6 separate regions of the Homo sapiens genome follow, and all the other regions are linked to region 3. The links are contacts of gene promoters, found by promoter capture Hi-C in blood cells and fetal thymus (Javierre and others, 2016). All regions are on one chromosome and are shown on one strand. Each heading gives the region's core, a stretch centred on a gene start or on the middle of the fragment in contact. The rest is flanking DNA. Distances are from core to core; before and after follow the strand shown.

Evidence for each region. The method cuts DNA at HindIII sites, captures the fragments that hold promoters and counts their contacts. A CHiCAGO score of 5 or more calls a contact.
Region 1: a fragment that was not itself captured here is called in contact with the fragment with the promoter of CHMP4A in region 3 in 1 of 17 cell types (total CD4 T cells); the score reaches 5.9 in total CD4 T cells.
Region 2: a fragment that was not itself captured here is called in contact with the fragment with the promoter of CHMP4A in region 3 in 1 of 17 cell types (total CD8 T cells); the score reaches 6.4 in total CD8 T cells.
Region 4: a contact is called between a fragment that was not itself captured here and the fragment with the promoter of CHMP4A in region 3, in 2 of 17 cell types (activated CD4 T cells and total CD8 T cells). The highest score is 6.3, in activated CD4 T cells.
Region 5: a fragment that was not itself captured here is called in contact with the fragment with the promoter of CHMP4A in region 3 in 4 of 17 cell types (neutrophils, non-activated CD4 T cells, naive CD8 T cells and 1 more); the score reaches 9.0 in neutrophils.
Region 6: a fragment that was not itself captured here is called in contact with the fragment with the promoter of CHMP4A in region 3 in 1 of 17 cell types (total CD8 T cells); the score reaches 6.2 in total CD8 T cells.

The regions. Positions count from the first base shown.
Region 1 is chr14:24,010,427-24,013,594 of GRCh38, forward strand. It overlaps the pseudogene DHRS4L1. Among named protein-coding and RNA genes, the nearest start is that of DHRS4L2, 23 kb to the left of the region's middle. The HindIII fragment of the contact is 5,186 bases long and covers 1-3,168 here.
Region 2 is chr14:24,404,249-24,407,639 of GRCh38, forward strand. All of the region lies in intron 2 of NYNRIN (NYN domain and retroviral integrase containing), which reads left to right. Among named protein-coding and RNA genes, the nearest start is that of NYNRIN, 6.9 kb to the left of the region's middle. The HindIII fragment of the contact is 2,837 bases long and covers 210-3,046 here.
Region 3 is chr14:24,212,035-24,215,510 of GRCh38, forward strand. CHMP4A (charged multivesicular body protein 4A) reads right to left here and starts at 1,454. Exons shown (of 6, transcript NM_014169.5): 1 at 1,375-1,454. The coding sequence starts at 1,405. NEDD8-MDP1 (NEDD8-MDP1 readthrough) reads right to left here. Exons shown (of 7, transcript NM_001199823.3): 5 at 2,458-2,565; 6 at 2,276-2,361; 7 at 1,909-2,117. The coding sequence ends at 1,990. It overlaps MDP1 (magnesium dependent phosphatase 1), which reads right to left. Exons shown (of 6, transcript NM_138476.4): 4 at 2,458-2,565; 5 at 2,276-2,361; 6 at 1,909-2,117. The coding sequence ends at 1,990. RefSeq lists enhancers at 863-982, 937-1,745, 1,173-1,672, 1,309-1,603, 2,758-3,476. The HindIII fragment of the contact is 5,751 bases long and covers 1-2,146 here.
Region 4 is chr14:24,059,439-24,062,844 of GRCh38, forward strand. CARMIL3 (capping protein regulator and myosin 1 linker 3) reads left to right here. Exons shown (of 40, transcript NM_138360.4): 21 at 1-4; 22 at 226-294; 23 at 532-625; 24 at 719-817; 25 at 1,190-1,318; 26 at 1,489-1,602; 27 at 2,059-2,234; 28 at 3,042-3,129; 29 at 3,271-3,406. Among named protein-coding and RNA genes, the nearest start is that of CARMIL3, 9.1 kb to the left of the region's middle. The HindIII fragment of the contact is 4,487 bases long and covers 1-3,406 here.
Region 5 is chr14:24,445,860-24,449,344 of GRCh38, forward strand. The region is part of intron 2 of LOC101927045 (a long non-coding RNA gene); the gene reads left to right. Among named protein-coding and RNA genes, the nearest start is that of SDR39U1, 4.8 kb to the left of the region's middle. The HindIII fragment of the contact is 4,219 bases long and covers 1-3,485 here.
Region 6 is chr14:24,041,475-24,044,774 of GRCh38, forward strand. It overlaps the pseudogene DHRS4L1. Among named protein-coding and RNA genes, the nearest start is that of CARMIL3, 8.9 kb to the right of the region's middle. The HindIII fragment of the contact is 635 bases long and covers 1,221-1,855 here.

The DNA.
Region 1 (3,168 bases), core at 569-3,068, 200 kb before region 3:
TAGAGAATGGCGATGACTTTTACCAAGTATACTGCTTGTAAACATTTTGTTAACAAGGCACGTCCTACACAGTCCTAGATCCCTTAAACCTTGATTTCATACAACACATGTTCTTGTGAGCTCCAGGTTGGGTCAAAGTGGTTGGGTCAAAGTGGCTGGGGCAAAGCTAAAAATTAACAACATCTCAGAAAAGCAATTATTTAAAGTACAGGTCTTTTTCAAAATGTAGTCTCTTATGTCTTCCCTTTCTACATAGACACGGTAACAGTCTGATCTCTCTTTCTTTTCCCTACATATCCCCCTTTTCTTTTTGACAAAACTGTCATTGTCACCATGGCCTGTTTTTGCTGGTCACTGTCTTTCTGGAACTGCTGGATACACCTGTAGACTAACAATAGAGAGGGCAGACATACAAGGATTAATACAAAATTTGCAATAGTGGAATTTCCAATGGTTTTAACCCAAGTGATGGGGGCAAGAGGACAGTGTGGGTGCTCCGGCACCCAGGCAGTCTCCCTTCTCCTTTGTCTCTTAGTTGTTGTTTCTCATAGTTTTCAATCTTTCTCCTCACCTGCTCACTCGCACTTTTTGTTTCATTGTCTCCCTTCTCTTATGGTCTCTCTCTCTTTTTCTCTTTTTCTTCCTTTTACACTATTTCTTTTCCCAGTCTCACTTTCTGTGTCTCTCTCTGATCTCTGTCTTTCTCTTTTACATTATTTTTTTCCCCAGTCTCACCTTCTGTGTCTTTCTCTGATCTCTGTCTTTTCCAGTCTCTCTCTTACTCATTTTCTCCCTCTCTTTCTCTCTCTCTCTCTCTCTCTCTGTCTGTCATCCCGTGTCCTCTCTCCTTCACACTCAGTCTCTTTTTCTTTTTCTTTTTCTCCCTGGCTCTCCACATCTGCCGTTTTCTCTCCTTTCTCTTTCTGATTTCTCTTCTCACTTTCTCTCTTCCTTTCTTTCCCAGTTTCTCTTTTTTCTCTGTTGGTCTTTCCCAAATAATGAAAAGGAGTGGAGGTCTGAATGTTATCAGATGCTATTGTCAGGCCTGCGTTTGCAACCTCTGTCTGCAGAAATGTGTAACAGTCAATTAATTTGTCTCTCGTTTCTGCAGCACTCAAAATATCATCAACATAATGAATAATATAACAGTCTGAAAACTTGTCTCTAACTGGTTGAAGAACTTGAGCTACAAAAGTCTGACAAATAGTTGGACTATTAAGCATTCCCTGAGGCAACACTTTCCGCTGAAATCTGGTGGCTGGTTTTTTATTATTTATGGCTGGTATAGTAAAAGCAAATTTTTTTAAATCCTATTTTGCCAGAGGAATGGTAAAAACGCAATCCTTTAGCTCAATTATAATTAAAGGCCAATCTTTGGGGATCATGGCCGGAGAAAGCAGCCCAAGTTGGAGAGTCCCCATGGGTTGAATTACTGCATTGATGGCTCTCAAATCAGTTAGGATGCACCATCTGCCTGATTTTTTCTGAATTACAAACGCAGGAGAATGCCAAGGTGAAAATGAAGGCTCAATGTTTCCCTTTTCTAATTGTTCCTTTGCCACTAAGTGTAAGGCCTCCAGTTTTTGCTTTGGTAGTGGCCACTGATTTACCCATACAGGCTTTTCTGTTTTCCCAGTTAATGGAATGGGTTTTGGAGGCTCTACAGTGGCCACTCCTAAAAAGGATACCCTATTTCTTTTTTTTTTTTTTTTTTGGATTTTTTTAGCCTCAATTGGGACTTTAATGCCTTCTCCATTTTTCCCTAGTCCTTTACCAGAGAGATATCCCATTTTAGTCATGATTTTTTGACTCGTGGGGCTGTATAGGGAGACTGGAATAGTAATCTCTGCATGCCACTGTTCTAACAAGTCTCGGCCCCATAAGTTAATTGGAATAGAAATAATCATAGGCTGAACTGTACTCTCTTGATTATTAGGGCCTAGACAATGTAAAATCATGGCACTTTGATACACTTCTGAGGCGGTGCCCACACCAACAAATCCTGTAACAGGCTTTTGTTTAGGACAATTTTTTGGCCATTGATTTAAGACAATAATAGAAACATCAGCCCCAGTAGCCACTAATCCTTCAAACTGCTTTCCCTGAATAGTGACTGTACACACAGGTCTATTCTCTGAGAGCTGACTAGCCCAATAAACAACTTTTCCAGCAGGGTTGGTACTTCCAAACCCTCCTGTTCTTTCTGTTTTGCTATTCCCAATTTTAATATAAGGCAAAAGCAATAATTGAGCAATTCTATCACCTGGATTGGCACTCCAGGGAACAGCAGAGCTGATCACTAACTGAATTTCCCCTTTATAATCTGAATCAATTACCCCAGTATGAATTTGGACTCCCTTTAAATTTAGACTTGATCTTCCTAAAATAAGGCCTACCATCCCTTCTGGCAGCAGGCCATACACCCCAGTAGGAATCTTTTGAGGGAGCACTCCAGGGAGTGAAGAAACCATTTGAGTAGAACATAAATCTACTGCTGCGCTGCCTGCTGTGGTGGGGGATAACTGTTGTATTGTTGTAATTGGCTGATTCCCTGGAATGGTGGTATTTACTGTGGGGGTTGTTGTCCCTGAAAACCCTGAGGAACAAATGGCTGAATCAAGAATGCCCCACTTTGTTGCGGGGCCTGGGGCTGGTCCCTCTTCTCGTTTCCTGACAATGGTTGCCCATTTTTATCAAATTTAGAACAACATTCCTTAGCCCAGTGTTTTCCTCTTTCACATTTTGGACACAGGCCAGGTGGCTGTTTATTTTTGTTCTGTTTATTTAAGACTGGGCAATTCTTTTTTAGATGACCGATTTGACCACAATTATAACATTTTCCCCCAAATGTTTTAACTTGTCCTCCTAAAGCAACCCCCGTAATTGCTTGAGCCAGTAGCATTGCCTTATGCATAGTTCCTCCAATCCCATCACAAGCCTTCACATATTCTGTAATTACATCAACTCCTGCTGAAACCTTTCCTCTTAATGGCTTTATGGCCAATTGACATCCTGGATTTGCATTTTGATAACCCATTATTTCTACAACAACTTTTTGGGCGTTATCATCTGCAATCGATTTTTGAGCTGCATCTTGCAACCTTGCCACAAAGTCTGGATATGGCTCTTTAGAGCCTTGTCTGATTGAACTAAAAGAAGGGCAGGAGG
Region 2 (3,391 bases), core at 378-2,877, 190 kb after region 3:
TGAAGATTTCCTTAATTTTATCTTTGAAGCCTTTTCTTGGGTCTTTCATTTCTGCCATCAAATTTTTAATGTCTAGAAGTCACTTATATTCTCTCTGTTAAAAAATAGTATCCTACGCTTTTTAAATCCAATTTGAAACGTATGTATTCTATTCTTGTTTAGTGTCTACCATATTCTTTGTTACCTCTCTGAGGATAGAAATGATAGTAAGCTTTTTGAAGTTTTCTTCTCCCCCCTAGTTTCTCTTCTTTCAGGTTGCTTTTTTGTTTTCCTGTATGGTTTGTCCTCTGTGTTTCACATTAGAAGTTTTCCTCACAAGCCTGATAATCCTTGCATGATAAAGAGTGAAGGACAAAAAGCTGATTGGGAGTGGAGGCTGTGGGCAAGACTTGTTGGTTTTGAGCTTGATTGTACAGAGATTTGCAGGTGCTGTTGGTTAGGGACCCCGTTTTGTGATCTTTAAGTCTCTGCTCTTGGGCTGGCCAGGTTTTCCAGAATGTATGCCTGCTTCCCTGGCCTGGAGGGTCAGGGTCTGGCTGCCAAGCAAATCTCTGAGTGGGAAGAATGAGTTTCTCTGCGTTTAGCTTGCATTGTATACATCATTCTTTGGCCCTCCTCACTCCCTCCATGTTTTTTTGTGTGGTGCTCACACCTTCGATTATGCTGATCAACCTCGACTCCTAAGACCTTGTTTTGTACTCCCTGGAGAACAGCCCTCCAGTGAGCGGGAAGCTACTTGCCAAGCCTGTGTGTGTGTGTGTGTGTGTGTGTGTGTGTGTGAGAGAATGTGTGTGTGTGAATGTGTGTGAATGTGTGTGAATGTGTGTGTGTGTGTGTATGTGTGTTGGGAGTGGTTGGGCTCCCAGATCTAACTGCTCCTCAAAGAACCTGGTTTTTCATGTTCCCCTTCACTTCCAATTCCAGAGTTTCTTGTTGTTGTTTTCTGAGCCTTTTGAGTATCCTGCAGTGTAAATTGGGGTGGTTCTGGAAAGTAGACAATGAATGATAACTGACTTATGAGAAAGGAGAACCCTAAGTTAGGTGTTAAGTAATAAAGCACCTTGACAAGTACAGAATAATATTAAAATATGTCATATAAATGCTTTTATTTAACTTACAAGTTGACTAACGACCTGTGGGTATTGGACAATATATTCTTACAAATACAGTGCTCTTTTTCTGTGTCCTTTTCTATTCTTCTGTATCATCTTTCTACCTAGTTGTTAGTTGTTCCTGCCTCTTCTTCTCTACTTTTTCTCCTCTTGGAGGAAGAAGGTCTGGGTTGGCTTTAGGCAGGAAAGCTGTTCAGGTATTTTCAGGCTGTAAATGCCTGTTGTTTCCTTATCTTCTCTCCCTCTACAGTATAGACGGCATCATGGTGAAGACCCCCGACTGTGGAGCTAGAGTGCCTGAGTATCCCAGCCTACTAACTGTGTGATCTTGGACATATGGCCTTCCTTGCTCATCTAAAATGGGGATAATAGTATTTCCTTAAAGGGCAGAGAGAGGAATAAATAAGATAATGTGTGCAAAGTGCCTGACACATAATAAGCTCTCACTAAATATTAGTTCATATTTATTATTTTAAAAATTATCACAGTTCCTATATATTTCTTAATTTTAAAATATCGGGCCGGGCACGGTGGCTCATACCTGTAATCCCAGCACTTTAGGAGTCTGAGGCGGGTGGATCGCGTGAGGTCAAGAGTTCGAGACCAGCCTGACCAACACGGCAAAACCCCATCTCTACTAAAAATACAAAAATTAGCCGGGCATGGTGGTGCACATCTGTAATCCCAGCTACTGGGGAGGCTAAGGCAGGAGAATTTCTTGAACCTAGGAGGCGGAGGCTGCCGTGAGCTGAGATCACTCCAGTGGAAAAATTCTGGTATCAGAGCCTCTAGCTGTGCCACTGTACTCCAGCCTGGGTGACAGAGTGAGACTCTGCCTCAAAAAATAAAATAAAATAAAATAAAATAAAATAAAATAAAATAAAATAAAATATTGGACAGTTGATGGAACCATAAATATTCTAAGCTCTCTGCAGAAAGAGAAAGAAGCCACCCATAATCTTCTTCCCCAGCACATCTCTCCATTTTTCATGTTGTTTTCCGGTCATTGAAATGGGGGTGCCTGGGGTGGGGGAATATTTGTTAAGGTCTGAGACAGCCCACACCTGCTCAGATTTAACCTTGCTAGGCAGTGGGACCAGATGAGGTTGGGGTAGGAGGGGTTGGCTTGGGATGTCCATCAGGTTTTGAGCTGGTTTTGAACTGATTGAAAAGGGGTTAGACATGTATTTCAGGCTCTGAGGAAGAAGTTGCAGGTCTGTGGCCTCGGCCAGGTGGAAGAGGGACACGTAGGCCTGAGCCGGGAAAGATGGCCCGGGGACTGAGCAGAGGCACCTGGGTGGTCTTCAGGATCGCTGCTGGAGATCCAAAATGGAGTATGGGACTGCCAGGGGAAAGCAGGAAGAGGGATGAGAGGGATGACTATCAAAGAAAGGGGATGTGGAGGGGCATGGGGGCATATGAAGTCCACATGGGGTGGCTGATTGGAGCGAGAGCTCATGGGACCGCACAGATGGAACTCAGCCAGAGTGGAGAAACCCCAACCTCGCCCACCCCAGCCACTGCTAAAGATGGCAAGTGTGTGCCCTGTGAGCTCTGTGAACTCTAGGACTTGGTCTGCCCAGAAAGCCAGAGTTCTTCCTTCTCTTTAGCTATTGTGTGTATGTGCGGGTGCAGGGGTTCCCCTGGACACTGGCCCAGTGGCTTATCTCCTGCTCTGTTGCCTCTGGGCAACAGAGTTACTATGATTAGGGGTACAGGTTGTGCTAGAGGCATTCTGGAGGGGGATGAAGCTCGAGTCTCACATGATTACCCTGTAGTCACTGTGGTCTGCCAGAGGAGGTGGAAAAATTTCTAGTATCAGAGCCTCTAGCTGTGTGCCCTTGGGCAAGCTGCATAGCTCTTCTCAGCCTGCAAAATGGGAACAGGCTGTGCCAGGTGTCATCCTCAGTACTTTCTGCGTATTAATTCACTGAAGCTTCAGAGTGGCCCAATGAGGCAGGAACTATTACTGTTCCCATTTTACAGAGGAGGAACTGCAGGCACGGGGGCAGGCGTGTTGTGTGATTAATAACTTGCCACAGGTTGCATAGTTCCTAGCTTATGGAGGGTGCCCAGTAGTGTGCAGCCACTTTCTCCCCAGCTGTCACACAATTCAGGAATGCCAGACTGGGACTAGACCTCAGGAGCATCCAGTTTAACCTTTCTTTTTCTTGGTGAAGAGACTGCGGTGCTGAGAAGGTGATAGATGCCCCACAATTAACCTAATCAGTTGAGGTCGAGTTGGAGCTGCAACCTGGGTTCTTTCCCTCCTCTCTCCC
Region 3 (3,476 bases), core at 204-2,703:
AATCAAGATGTGGCAGTATGAGTTCTAAAACCAATATTCTTTTTACTATTCCTAGCTGCCTTTCTTTTTTTTTCTTTAGGCAGAGTTTCAGTCTTGTTGCCCAGGCTGGAACGCAATGGCGTGATCTCAGCTCACCTCAACCTCCGCCTCCTGGGTTCAAGCAATTCTCCTGCCTCAGCCTCCCAAATAGCTGGGATCACAGGCATGTGCCACCATGCCTGGCTAATTTTTTGTGTTTTTAGTACAGACAGGCTTTCTCCATGTTGGTCAGGCTGGTGTCGAACTCCCAACCTCAGGTGATCTGCCCGCCTCGGCCTCCCAAAGTGTTTTGATTACAGGCATGAGCCACCGCGCCAGGACTTCTTTTTTTGAGACAGAGTCTCGCTCTGTTGCCCAGGCCAGAGTGCAGTGGCATGATCTCAGCTCATTGCAACCTCCGTCTCCCGGGTTCAAGTGATTCTCCTGCCTCAGCCTCCCTGAGTAGCTGGGACTACAGGCACACACCATCATGCCCACCTAATTTTTTTTTTTTTTTTTGAGAATGGAGTCTCCCTCTGTCACCAAGGCTGGAGTGCATTGGTGCAATCTTGGCTCACTACAACCTCCGCCTCCTGGGTTCAAGCGATTCACCTGTCTCAGCCTCCCCCAGTAGCTGGGACTACAGGCGCGTGCCACCACAACCAGCTAATTTTTTTTTTTTTTTTGTATTTTTAGTAGAGACAAGGTTTCACCATGTTGTCCAGGCTGGTCTCGAACTCTTGACCTCAGGTGATCCACCCACCTCGGCCTCCCAAAGTGCTGGGATTACAGGCGTGAGCCACCGCGCCCGGCCAATTTTTATATTTTTAGTAGAGACGGGGTTTCACCATATTGGCCAGGCTGATCTCAAACTCCTGACCTCATGATCCACCCACGTCGGCCTCCCAAAGTGTTGCGAGTACAGGCGTGAGCCCCCGCGCCGGGCTAAGAAGGCAGTCTTTCTTCTTCACCTTAGATCCCTCTTGCCCAGCACAAAGTATTATAGAACAAGGTTTTGAAAATGGCTGAAGACAGCAGGAAACTCGTCTTCAAGCCTGAACAGTGGGAGTCAGCACGATCGCCACGCCCTCAACTCAAGTCCCCTCCCAGATCTTGAGTTCTTCCCTCTGAGAGTGGGGGAGGACGGCGGACGGGAACAAGGCGCCCCGACATGGTGTGCCTTTTGGCACCGGCGATGAGCCTTGCTCCGCCATCGGCCGCCGGGGTTTTCCAGTCAGCCTGTCTCCTGATTCTCTTCCCCTGCCCGGCGCAGCGGTCCGGCCGAATCTCGCCGGGGTCTCCTCTTCCCCTGCACCAGCCAGCGCCTCCTGGCTGGCCAGTCCCACCCTGGCTCACCCTTCCCGAAGAGCCTGCCGAGACCACTCATCGCGAGCTCGCCTCTCCCGCCTCCGCCCCTCAGCGTCCTCCAGACTTCCGCCTTGCTCCTGGGAGGGTGATGTCTCATCACACAGGGACCAGCCTTGCCCAATCCGTCCTCAGGGCGCCGCCGCGACATCAAGAGGCGCAAACGAGACCACCGGTGTCACGTGACCCAAGCCACCAGCCCCAGACCGACGCGCTCCTCTTAAAGCTGCCACATCATTTTCTATTAAGTAAAAAGACAGTTCTATCTCCACCTGAGTACGTGCTTGTTCTCCGGAAGGAAATGTGCAGTGTGATGGCACCTCAGTGTATGGGGTCAGTGGGAAAACTTCATGCTCTTTACAGAGCTCAGGAAAGTGGGGTGGTATAGGTTCAAGCACTTGGGGTTGCCCTAAGTTTAGATGGCAAACCTGATGCAGTCTAATGTCTCACATTCTGGTCTCTGCACCTCAGGACAACCAACCCCATTTCACAGGCTAGAAAAATAGAAACTCCCCACACTGTGGGTAAAATCTCTTCTGTCACACACAGATGAACTTTAATAAATTACAAATGCACCTGAAAATGCCTTCTTGATTTCCTTTCAGTTTAGGCCTCAAATGGGCTCTCCTCAAGGCTGGACCTCAAAGGCCCAGTTTGGGCCTTCGCAAATGTCTCTAACCCTTGACTTAGAGTTTGAAGATTCATTCCATTCTGGATGTGAATGCAGGTAACACCTAGAAAGATAAGAAGTCACATTTCATTAAGCTTTCAGGGTTCTCCATTATTACTCTGACCTTTGTGAGTGCCACCTATAGGGCAAACTATCCAACCTGTATGTATCTACCTAATCCCTCCTAGGGACCCCAAATGGCTGTTCCTCATCACTCAGTACCCAGTTTGCTGACGTCTACAATATTCCGCCTCTCATCATCAAAGAAGATCATCTGGGAGAAAGGAATTCCAGTCTTCTGCTGCAACCTATTCAAGACAGGGCAGGAGTAACCAAGCTAGTATCTTGGTTTCCCAGGCCTCTCTGATACTTTCTCACCCTGCTCCTCCCTTATCTCCGCATACCTCTCAAAGTGTGTGATCTTGCTGCCTGGATAGATTTCCCGATGAACAAAGTACCTGAAGAGGTCAAAGAGCTCCAGTAGCTGGTTGGCCCCTTCTATCTCACTTGTCCTGCAAAACGGTGTAAAAGATGGGATTAGCAAAGTGAAGGGCCAGGGCTACGTTAACTTATTAAGCAAAGTTAGTAAGTATAACCAGGGAAATCAACTTGCTGTTTTTCCGGGATGGACAGGCATCCTCAGCCTCTGTTTAACTCCATTGCCTTCCTATTTGACACAATTGGTGCTGGGCCAATGTTTTAGCTTTTGTTTTGAGACAGGGTCTAGCTCTGTTGCCCAGACTGGAGTGCAGCGACCCAATCACGGCTCACTGTGGTCACGACCTCCTGGGCTCAAGTGATCCTCCCACCTCAGCCTCCCAAGTAGCTGGGACTACAGGTGCACGCCACTACAATTTTTTTTTTTTTTTTGGTAGAGATAGGGTCTCCCTCTATTGCCTAGGCTGGTCTCAAATTCCTGGGCTCAAGTGATCCTCCCACCTAGGCCTCCCAAAATGCTAAGATTACAGGTGTGAGTCACTGTGTCTGGCCCCACTTTTTTTTTTTTTTTTTTTTTTGAGACATTGTCTCACTCTGTCACCCAGGCTGAAGTGCAGTGGCTCCATCTCAGCTCACTGCAACCTCCGCCTCCCGGGTTCAAGCGATTCTCCTGCCTCAGCCTCCCGAGTAGCTAGGATTACAGGTGCGTGCCACCACGCCCTGCTAATTTTTGTATTTTTAGTAGAGACGGGGTTTCACCATGTTGATCAGGCTGGTCTTGAACTCCCGATCTCGTGATCCACCCGCCTCGGCCTCCCAAAGTGCTGGGATTACAGACGTGAGCCACCGCGCCCGCCTGCTGGCCCCACTTTTTAATAGTTAAAAGGCACAGGAGAGCGTTCAAGGGAAAAAATATGTAAATACTTGGAAACTTGCACCGCCCCTATTTTTGTAGACCAGGGGTTTCACTGTCTCTTGCATGCAC
Region 4 (3,406 bases), core at 862-3,361, 150 kb before region 3:
TCAGGTGGGGCCCACACCGGGACCCCCTGACCTGGAGCCCCAGCCCCTCCCCATATGTACATAATCTCCCTGCTTTCCTTGATGCTCTGGACCCCAGCTTCCAGAAGACCCCCAGCCCCAGAACCATCTCTGAGTCAGCCTTATTGCCCCAAGAGGTTTGTGTCCCTGGCCCCTAGTAGGGACCCAGGAGGAGAGGTGCCAAACTGGTGCTTACCCTCCCCCCAGAACTATCCTATGGGATCGGAACAATACATCTGCCCTGGGCTTCCTGGACATCGCAAGGGCCCTGGAGAGGTGAGTAGACCATGGTCCTGCCCTGATCCAAGTCCCCAGCCTCCCTGTGCCTGGATCAGGCCTGAACTACTCTTGCCCCACCCTAGCCCCTTTGACCTATTTGCACAGAAATTTTAGGAAGGGCCATGGAAGACAGAAATGATGAGCAAGGGGGCTGGAGGGCTGCTCACCAACAGAGGAGGCAGGGGCCTCCCATCCTCACCTGTTCCCACCCAGCTGTGCCCCTGTGTCCCACAGCAACCACACGCTGCGCTTCATGTCCTTCCCCGTGAGCGACATCTCCCAAGCCTATCGCAGCGCGCCTGAGCGCACCGAGGACGTCTGGCAGAAGGTGCAGGGTGCTGTCCTAAGCAGGGTGGCACAGCAAGGGGCAGGGGGCAGCCCCCATCCCCAGGCCCTGACCCACCAACCCCATCATCTCCAGATCCAATGGTGCTTAGTGAGGAACAACCACTCCCAGACGTGCCCCCAGGAGCAGGCCTTCAGGTTGCAGCAGGGCCTGGTGACCAGCAGCGCCGAGCAAGTAAACGTTTCCCTCTGGGACACGGGGCATACCCGGGGCATGCAGGGCACAGTGTGATGTGATGGAAAATTGAGTGGGGGAGCATGAAGAGGCACTGCATGGTGCCTATCACTGGACTGAGCATGTGGGGAAGCAAAAAGAGAGGACATGCAGGATATGGGCTTCAAACATATGTGGGCGAACAGCAGGAGTGCACAGGACTCTGGGAGCTCAGCTGGGCATTCAAGAAGGCTGTAGCAATGGGGACCAGGCCAGCCAGAGACATCACCTCCACCACTGTCGGTGCCAGCACCAGTAGCACTGTCTAAGGGGTCCTACCTGCGAAGATGTGGAAGCAGGGGTCCCCTTGACACCCCTGCCACTGTGCTCCAGATGCTGCAGCGGCTGTGTGGACGAGTGCAGGAGGAGGTGCGGGCCCTGAGACTATGCCCCCTGGAGCCTGTGCAGGATGAGCTACTCTACGCTCGGGACCTCATCAAAGATGCCAAGAACTCCCGGGCGGTGAGCCCTCCACAGGCTACCCTTCCCCTGAAGTCTGGAGAACCCAAGAAGGCCGACCATGCTAAGCCATGACAGCCCTGCCCTGTGCATCTGCCTTCCTAGCCCAGGGACCCCAGAGACCTAGCAAGTCCTGGTTCTGGCCTGCTAATCATAACCCCTTCCTTCTCCAGCTGTTTCCCAGCCTCTATGAGCTGGGCCACGTGCTGGCCAATGATGGGCCTGTGCGGCAGAGGCTGGAATCAGTAGCAAGTGAGGTGTCCAAAGCTGTGGACAAGGAGCTGCAGGCAAGTCCTGGAGGAGGGAGGAATCCATGGTGGGAACCTAGTGTTGACTGAGGCCCTAAGCCCAGAGCTAAAGTCAGAGCTGGGAGACTTCTGGAGGGCCAGGAGGACATGCAGAGTTGAGACCACCCACGCTCCCACTGTACCAAGGCATTGCTGCAATATCAGGCTTGGATTTTTTTCTGCTAGCTTTGATGTTGGTCCCTGAACTCTGACCTCCCTGCTCTGGATTTGGATCCTTGGACTGACTGCCCCTGTCTGTATGGTAGGGTGGAAGGAGCACTGACCAGAAAGTGGGGAAGCCTTAGTGTCCAAGGCTCTGCCACTAACAGTTTTGTGACTTAGGCAGGTCCCTCAGTCTCAGCAGGAGGGGCTGGAATAGATAAAGTCTCTTCTGCTGTGGTGCCAGCCCTGATCCTGTCCCCCTTGGGCCTCTGGCCTCCCTTTCCCCCATACTAGGTGATCCTGGAGTCCATGGTCAGCCTGACACAGGAGTTATGCCCTGTGGCCATGCGGGTGGCCGAGGGACACAACAAGATGCTGAGCAATGTGGCGGAGCGTGTCACTGTGCCCCGGAACTTCATCCGAGGGGCACTGCTGGAGCAAGCAGGACAGGACATTCAGAACAAGCTGGAGTGAGAGGCAAAGGGCAGGGCTGGGGCTGAGCTGGATTTGGCCCAGATCACTTAGGGACTTAGGACTGGAGAGCTATCAGCAATGAATAATGAATGGCACAATCTCCATTACAAGGATCAATCTTTAACCAAGTGCAACCTTGCTATTTAGGGTCTGGCTGGTCTTTGCCCTAGAAATCTAAGTGCTGAGCTGGGGTTTAGGAGCCAAGTTTGTGCCCACACAGGTGTACACACACATACCCACACAAATACACCAGGAATGGGATAGCAGGGCCTCCTCGGAGGCATGGACAAAGAAAAGTACCTGAGTTGGGTGCATGGAAGCACTGTCTTCCTCCCAGTTTTCATTGCCCCTAGAGTTCTTTCATTCTGGGTCTGGGTGCCACCACTCACCAAACCAAAGGAAAACTAGTACACATACCTATGAAACAGCTAGGCCCAAGGAAGGGTCTTTCCTACCCTCACAGTAGCAACTAGCAGGGTTTAGTTACTCAGCACCCCAATTACCTAGCTCTGTTCCACTGGGGCTCCAGGGGCCTGACCTAGGGCCCCCTTGCTCCTTCTCCTCGAATTCCTCTTTCCCCACACATAGTTGGGCTGGGGGCTCTGGGGTGGGACTAGACGTGTATTTGTGGAGAAATGAGTGTCAAGGGCTAGGCTGCCTCCTTCAGCAGCCACATGCGCTCCATGGGCAGACAGACCAGGCCAGCTGGCCGTTCTCTCAGGCTTCTGGGAGAGGGAGTGCCTCAGGGGCCATGCGGGGGACTGAGGTGCTAATGTTCTGAGTAGCCCCACCTGTGCCCACAGTGAAGTGAAGCTCTCAGTCGTCACCTACCTAACCAGCTCCATAGTGGATGAGATCCTGCAAGAGCTCTACCATTCCCACAAGAGCCTGGTAAGGCTTCTTCTGCAGCCTGGCCTGGCTCGGGCACGCCCTCCACCCCACATTATCCTGTCTCCCTAATCACCCTCCCCTTCAAGGCCCTGGGAGGTGGGCAGCTTCCATGGAATTCTGTTCACACCTGCCCTTCCCCAGGCCCGGCACCTGACCCAGCTAAGGACGCTGTCAGATCCACCAGGGTGCCCAGGCCAAGGGCAGGATCTGTCCTCCCGGGGCCGAGGCCGGAACCATGACCATGAGGAGACCACAGATGATGAACTTGGGACCAACA
Region 5 (3,485 bases), core at 715-3,214, 230 kb after region 3:
TCTTAAGAAATTCTGTCAAGGGCACCCAGTTTTCTTCAGTTAATAATGTAAAAAGGACTGTATTGATGTGGTTAAGTCTCCAGGACCCTCAGTTCTTTAGGGTGTACTAAATGGCTGGTGTCATTTCTTACGAAAGTGTCTTGAAGTTGGTGGAACTTATGTTGAGAAATAAAGTTTATATTTTATATTTTTTAATCTTTTAATTGATTTTTCCACAACATTTTGAAATTTCCTCATATTTCCCTCTGTCTCTGCCATCACAATCGTCTTATGAGTTATTCTGTCTTGTGTAAATATCTGCAGTAGTCTCCTAGTAGGTCTTCCTGCTTTTGCATGTTTCTCCTCTCCAAACTATTTCACACATTGCAAGCTGAGTGATCTTTGAAAACCATATGAGGGGAACATTATAGTGGCACGTATAGTTTAAAAAACTCCCAGTTTAAAATTCCTGGATATGCTGGATAAAATTAAACATACCTCCATTTAAATGTATTGCCAAGTTAGCTAGAAAAATAAAAAAATCCCAGAAGCCAAAAAATGAAATGTGTCTTGGGACTGAGGTTATGACAAAGATTATTTGCTTGGCCAAACTTTAGTCAGGCTTCTGAACCTTCTAGGCTCATTTGTACACCTCTTTGTAAAATCCAGTTTTCGCAAAGAGCCTTGCTAAGTCAGTTTAGCAAGAACCCCCTCAACCCTTGATATCTGATCACTCTCAATCTCTGATCAGGCCCCTCATCCTTCATCCCCTAGGTGATGTCTGATCACCTTGGCCTATCTTCACATGAATCCCGTTAGTTTGGGTTAGCCAGAATCCCTCTTACCCTTGATATTTTTCTCTTACTAATTTTTCATCCACTGACCCCCACCGTATTCGTTGGCTATAAATTCCCACTTGCCCATGTTGTTTCATACTTGACCCCAATCTCTCCCACTGCAAGACCACATTGTAGTGGTACCTGTACCTATTGTGATGGAAAGTCTTCCTTACCTTACTCTATCAAGTGTCACTGAATAATTTTCTTTAACAGGTATTTTGTGACTTTTAGTTTCAGTAACCCAGAGGCTTGGGTGACAGGAGACCATGCCTGAGATCGAAGCAAATTTGGGACTGAGACCCCTGGATAAAGCCCTTGGGCTGTGTTCTCAGATAAAAAGTAAACTTTAAAAGTCCACCTGGTATCAAAGAACATGGCCTGGAAACTTGTTTCTCTAGGCTTTGCTCTTGTCTAGGATTGGTTGTCAAAAAAATTACCGTTCTTTGAGAAGTTGTATCTATTGTCCTGTCCGCCTGCATATTTGTGGTTTGAATTAATTGTTACCTACTTGGCCTAGAAAGCTCTAACCCAAGAATTTAAATTAAGTGTTCCAGATAGAAGACATAAATCTTCCCTTGGTTTGGTTTCACAGGATTTCAATAGATAAAATCCTGCCAAGCATAAACATACAATACAAAATTACAAAACACACAAGGAAACAAAGCACTCTGAGGGTGTCAAATAAAATCAAACCAAACCGAAACAGAAAACAGCAGATTTAGACAAAGATTTAAAGTGTTAGAATTTAGAGGTATAGAATATAAAATTACCAAAGTTTAAAACGTTTAAGAAAGAGAAGAAATTAAAAACATGAGAAAGAGACAAGATGCTATCAAAAAATACCAGCAGAATTGATAAAAGAACCAACCTGAACTTTGAAAAATTAAAATTTTTTTAATTCAAAAAATTTTTTATTGTACTTTAAGTTCTAGGGTACATGTGCACAATGTGCAGGTTTGTTACATATGTATACATGTGCCATGTTGGTGTGCTGCATCCATTAACTCATCATTTACATTAGGTATTCCTCCTAATGCTATCCCTCCCCCCACACCCACCCCACAATAGGCCCCGGTGTGTGATGTTCCCCACCCTGTGTCCAAGCATTCTTATTGTTCAGTTCCCACCTATGAGTGAGAACATGCAGTGTTTGGTTTTTTGTCCTTGCGAGAATTTGCTCAGAATGATGGTTTCCAGCTTCATCCATGTCCCTACAATGGATCATCCTTTTTAATGGATGCATAGTATTCCATGGTGTATATGTGCCACATTTTCTTAATCCAGTCTATCATTGATTGACATTTGGGTTGGTTCCAAGTTTCTGCTATTGTGAATAGTGCCACAGTAAACATACATGTGCACGTGTCTTTATAGTAGCATGATTTATAATCCTTTGGGTATATACCCAGTAATGGGATTGCTGGGTCAAATGGTATTTCTAGTTCTAGATCCTTGAGGAATCACCACACTCCCTTCCACACTAGTTTCCACTCCCACCAACAGTGTAAAAGTGTTCCTATTTCTCCACATCCTCTCCAGCACCTGTTGTTTCCTGACTTTTTAATGATTGCCATTCTAACCGGTGTGAGATGGTATCTCATTGTGGTTTTGATTTGCATTTCTCTGATGGCCAGTGATAATGAGCATTTTTTCATGTGTCTGTTGGCTGCATAAATGTCTTCTTTTGAGAAGTGTCTGTTCATATCCTTCACCCACTTTTTGATGGGGTTGTTTGATTTTTTCTTGTGAATTTGTTTGAGTTCATTGTAGATTCTGGATATCAGCCCTTTGTCAGATGGGTGGATTGCAAAAAATTTTCTCCCATTCTGTAGGTTGCCTGTTCCCTCTCATAGTAGTTTCTTTTGCTGTGCAGAAGCTGTTTAGTTTAATTAGATCCCATTTGTCTATTTTGGCTTTTTTTGCCATTGCTTTTGGTGTTTTAGACATGAAGTCCTTGCCCATGCCTATGTCCTGAATGGTATTGCCTAGGTTTTCTTCTAGGGTTTTTATGGTTTTAGGTCTAACATTTAAGTCTTTAATCCATCTTGAATTAATTTTTATATAAGGTGTAAGGAAGGGATCCAGTTTCAGCTTTCTACATATGGCTAGCCAGTTTTCCCAGCACCATTTATTAAATAGGGAATCCTTTCCCTGTTTCTTGTTTTTGTGAGGTTTGTCAAAGATCAGATGGTGGTAGATGTGTGGTATTATTTCTGAGGGCTCTGTTCTGTTCCATTGGTCTATCTCTCTGTTTTGGTACCAGTACGCTGCTGTTTTGGTTACTGTAGCCTTGTAGTATAGTTTGAAGTCAGGTAGCATGATGCCTCCAGCTTTGTTCTTTTGGCTTAGGATTGTCTTGGCAATGCGGCCTCTTTTTTGGTTCCATATGAGCCTTAAAGTAGTTTTTTCCAATTCTGTGAAGAAAGTCATTGGCAGCTCGATGGGGATGGCATTAAATCTGTAAATTACCTTGGGCAGTATGGCCATTTCGATGATATTCATTCTTCCTATCCATGAGCATGGAATGTTCTTCCATTTGTTTGTGTCCCCTTTTATGTCATTGAGCAGTGGTTTGTAGTTCTCCTTGAAGAGGTCCTTCACATCCCTTGTGAGTTGTATTCCTAGGTATTTTATTCTCTTTGAAGCAATTGTGAATGGGAGTTCACT
Region 6 (3,300 bases), core at 288-2,787, 170 kb before region 3:
CCTGGGCAGCCGGTTTCCTAATGACCCCAGCTCACTTTCAGAGGGCTCTTACGAATTAGCTCTGTGCTACAAAGTGGGAGACTGACCTCAGTTCTTCCACCACTAACTAGCTTTATGCCCTGAACAAATCACTTTCCCCAACACGGAATAAGCAGGCCTCCTGTTCTTAGCTAGCCCCAGTGTGTTACTACTGAACTATATGATCTTGAGAAAATTCCCTGAACCTGTTTCATCATCTCCACCTTAAGGACATTGGAATAGATGATCTCAAAGGCCCCTCCAGGGTAACTTTCTACAGCTCTATTTAAGCCAGTTTTTCCATTCAGGTAAGTGTGGCCAGATTGACTTTGAAATAATGGTAACTTATTCAAGAAGAACTGGACAGTAAGCACTTGGAGAAATGTGGGTGGAACTCAGTGTGAAAGGAAGAGGAGGGGTCTGGAAATAGATTTTGGGGTGAGATTTGAAATCACGAGAATGAAGGAGCTCCCAAATGGGAAAATGTAAAGAAAAGAGCATAGGGTCAGAGACAGCCTTAGAAGAATAGGAGGTGGGAAGAAAACACTGCAAAAGAAATAAGGCCAACTTCCTGGTGGCTCACACCTGTAACACTTTGAGAGGCCGAGGCAGGCGGATGGCTTTAGCTCAGGAGTTCCAGACCAGCCTGGGCAACATGGCAAGACCCTGTCTCTACAAAAAGTACAAAAATTGCCCAGGTGTGATGGCACGCACCTGTATTCTCAGCTACTTGGGGGGCTGAGGCAGGAGGATGGCTTGAACCCAGTAGGTCAAGGCTGCAGTGAGCTGGGATCATGCCACTGAACTCCAGCCTGGGTGACAGAGGAAGACTCCATCTAAAAAAAGAAAGAAGCCAACCTTAAATGGTTAGCAGCAGATCTTAGGGTAGTTTTCAAAAAAGATGTTTTAAGAAATAGAAGTTATTTTGACGATAGTTCCTAAGAAGGAAGATTTGTTGTTGTTGTTGTTGTCATTGTTGTTGTTTTTTTAAATATAGGGATAAGGTCTCCCTATGTTGCCCAGGCTTCTCTCAAACTGCTCAGTTCAAGTGGTCCTCCCACCGTGACCTCCCAAAGTGCCATGATTCCCGGCGTGAGCCACCACGCCCCGCCCAGAAGGAAGTTTTTATCAACGTGAATAAATGCACCTCCCTTACTTACTGCAGCCCTGGTCCAGACCTTACCCCTCTCCCTAGGCTATGAAGCTTCATGGAGTTATTGATATCCTATCACTATCGATAACAAACTCCGTCTGCTTTTAGAATGTGTTTATCAAGTGCAGTGTAAATGTGAGGAGTCTTTGCCACATGCCACACACCTGGAGCACACCTGGTAAAGGGCGGGTGGGGGCAGCTTCCTCTGTCCCTGCCCTTCTCATTCGTTTCTGCTGCTCCTACTTCTGTCTGCTTCCATCTGCCCTTCACTATCCACCGTCTGCTCCCCTCCCCAGCCTTCTTCCCGGCATGCTCTGCTACCTGGTTGATTTCCAACAGAGACGTGGCAGCTAATATGCCAACAACTATGACACTTAAACTTACACACCCAACTGTCCCCCTTTCAGCTGCCAAAAAGGAATCATTTTTCATTAGCTGGGAAATATTAAAAGCTGCTAGTTAAGTAAAATACTAATTCTGGTGAAATAACCAGTTGCCACTTTATAATATACATCCTTTAAAAAAGTAAAAATAAAAACCTATATTATTTTCTTCCTAACTGCAATGTCAAGAAAATCTGAGATCCAGATGTCTATATTCAAGTGGTACAATATTGGGTTTTATGTGTAAGTATATAATTACATTACATTCGTAATATATTTCACACACATTCTTTAATTACAAAGCTTTAATTAAAATATTTGTCTTTGTATACTAAGGTTAATAGTCCCACGATTTGGAAATGCTAATTTTTTATGATCTCCCATGGTTTTGCTTTTTACTCTGATGTTGTATTAGTCTGTTTTGCGTTGCTATAAAGGAATACCTGAGCTGGGCAATTTATAAAGAAAAAGAGGGTTGTGGCCGGGCGCGGTGGCTAACGCCTGTAATCCCAACACTTTGGGAGGTCGAGGCGGGCAGATCACGAGGTCAGGAGATCGAGACCATCTTGGCTAACATGGTGAAAGCCCGTCTCTACTAAAAATACAAAAAATCAGCCGGGTGTGGTGGCGGGCACCTGTAGTCTCAGCTACTTGGGAGGCTGAGGCAGGAGAATGGTGTGAACCCGGGAGGCGGAGCTTGCAGTGAGCCGAGATTGCGCCACTGCACTCCAGCCTGGGTGACAGAGCGAGACTCCGTCTCAAAAAAAAAAAAAAAAGAAAAGAAAAGAGGGTTGTTTTGGTTTACACTTCTGCAGACTGCAGAAGAAGCATGGTGCCAGTATCTGCTTCTGATGAGGCCTCAGGAAGCTTACAATCATAGCAGAAGGCAAAAGGGAGCAGGCGCGTTACATGGCAAGAGAGGAAGTGAGATACCAGGCTTTTAAACAACTAGCTCTGGCATGAACTAATAGAGTGAGAGCTCACTAATTGCCACCAGGAGAGCACCAAGCCATTCATAAGGGATCCACCCCATGACCCAAACACCTCACACCAGGTTCCACCTTGAACACTGGTGATCACATTTCAACATGGGACTTAGAGGGGACAAACATACCAACTATATCAGATGTCATCAAACATTTCTCAACACTAAAGTATCAGGATGTGAAAACACTATGATTTATTTACCAGTGTTTCATACACATAAAGACCAAAGTGCCAAAATGTTCTTCAGTGAGCTAGTTTTTTATTGTTAAGCTTTGTCCCTCTTTTTTTTTTTTTCCTCGCTGTGTCATCGAGGCTGGAGTGCAGTGCTGCGATCTAGCTCACTGCAACCCCCGCCTCCCAGGTTCAAGCGATTCTTGTGCCTCAGCCTGCCAAGTACCTGGGACTACAGGCATGTGCCACCATGCCCGGCTAATTTTTGATATTTTCAGTAGAGACAGGGTTTCACTGTGTTGCCCAGGCTGGTCTCAAATTCCTGGCCTCAACTGATCCACCCACCTCGGCCTCTCAAAGTGCTGGGATTATAGGCGTGAGCCACTGCACCCAGACAGATTCTGATAGTCTTTACAATGGAGGAACATCTTTCATGAACAGTCTGAATAGAGACCCTATGAAAGTCAGTTTTAAACTAAGTACAGGCACACCTCGGAGATATTGTGGGTCTGGTTCCAGGCCACCGCACAATAAAGTGAATATTATAATAAAGTGAGACACACGAATTTTTTGGTTTCCCAGTGCATA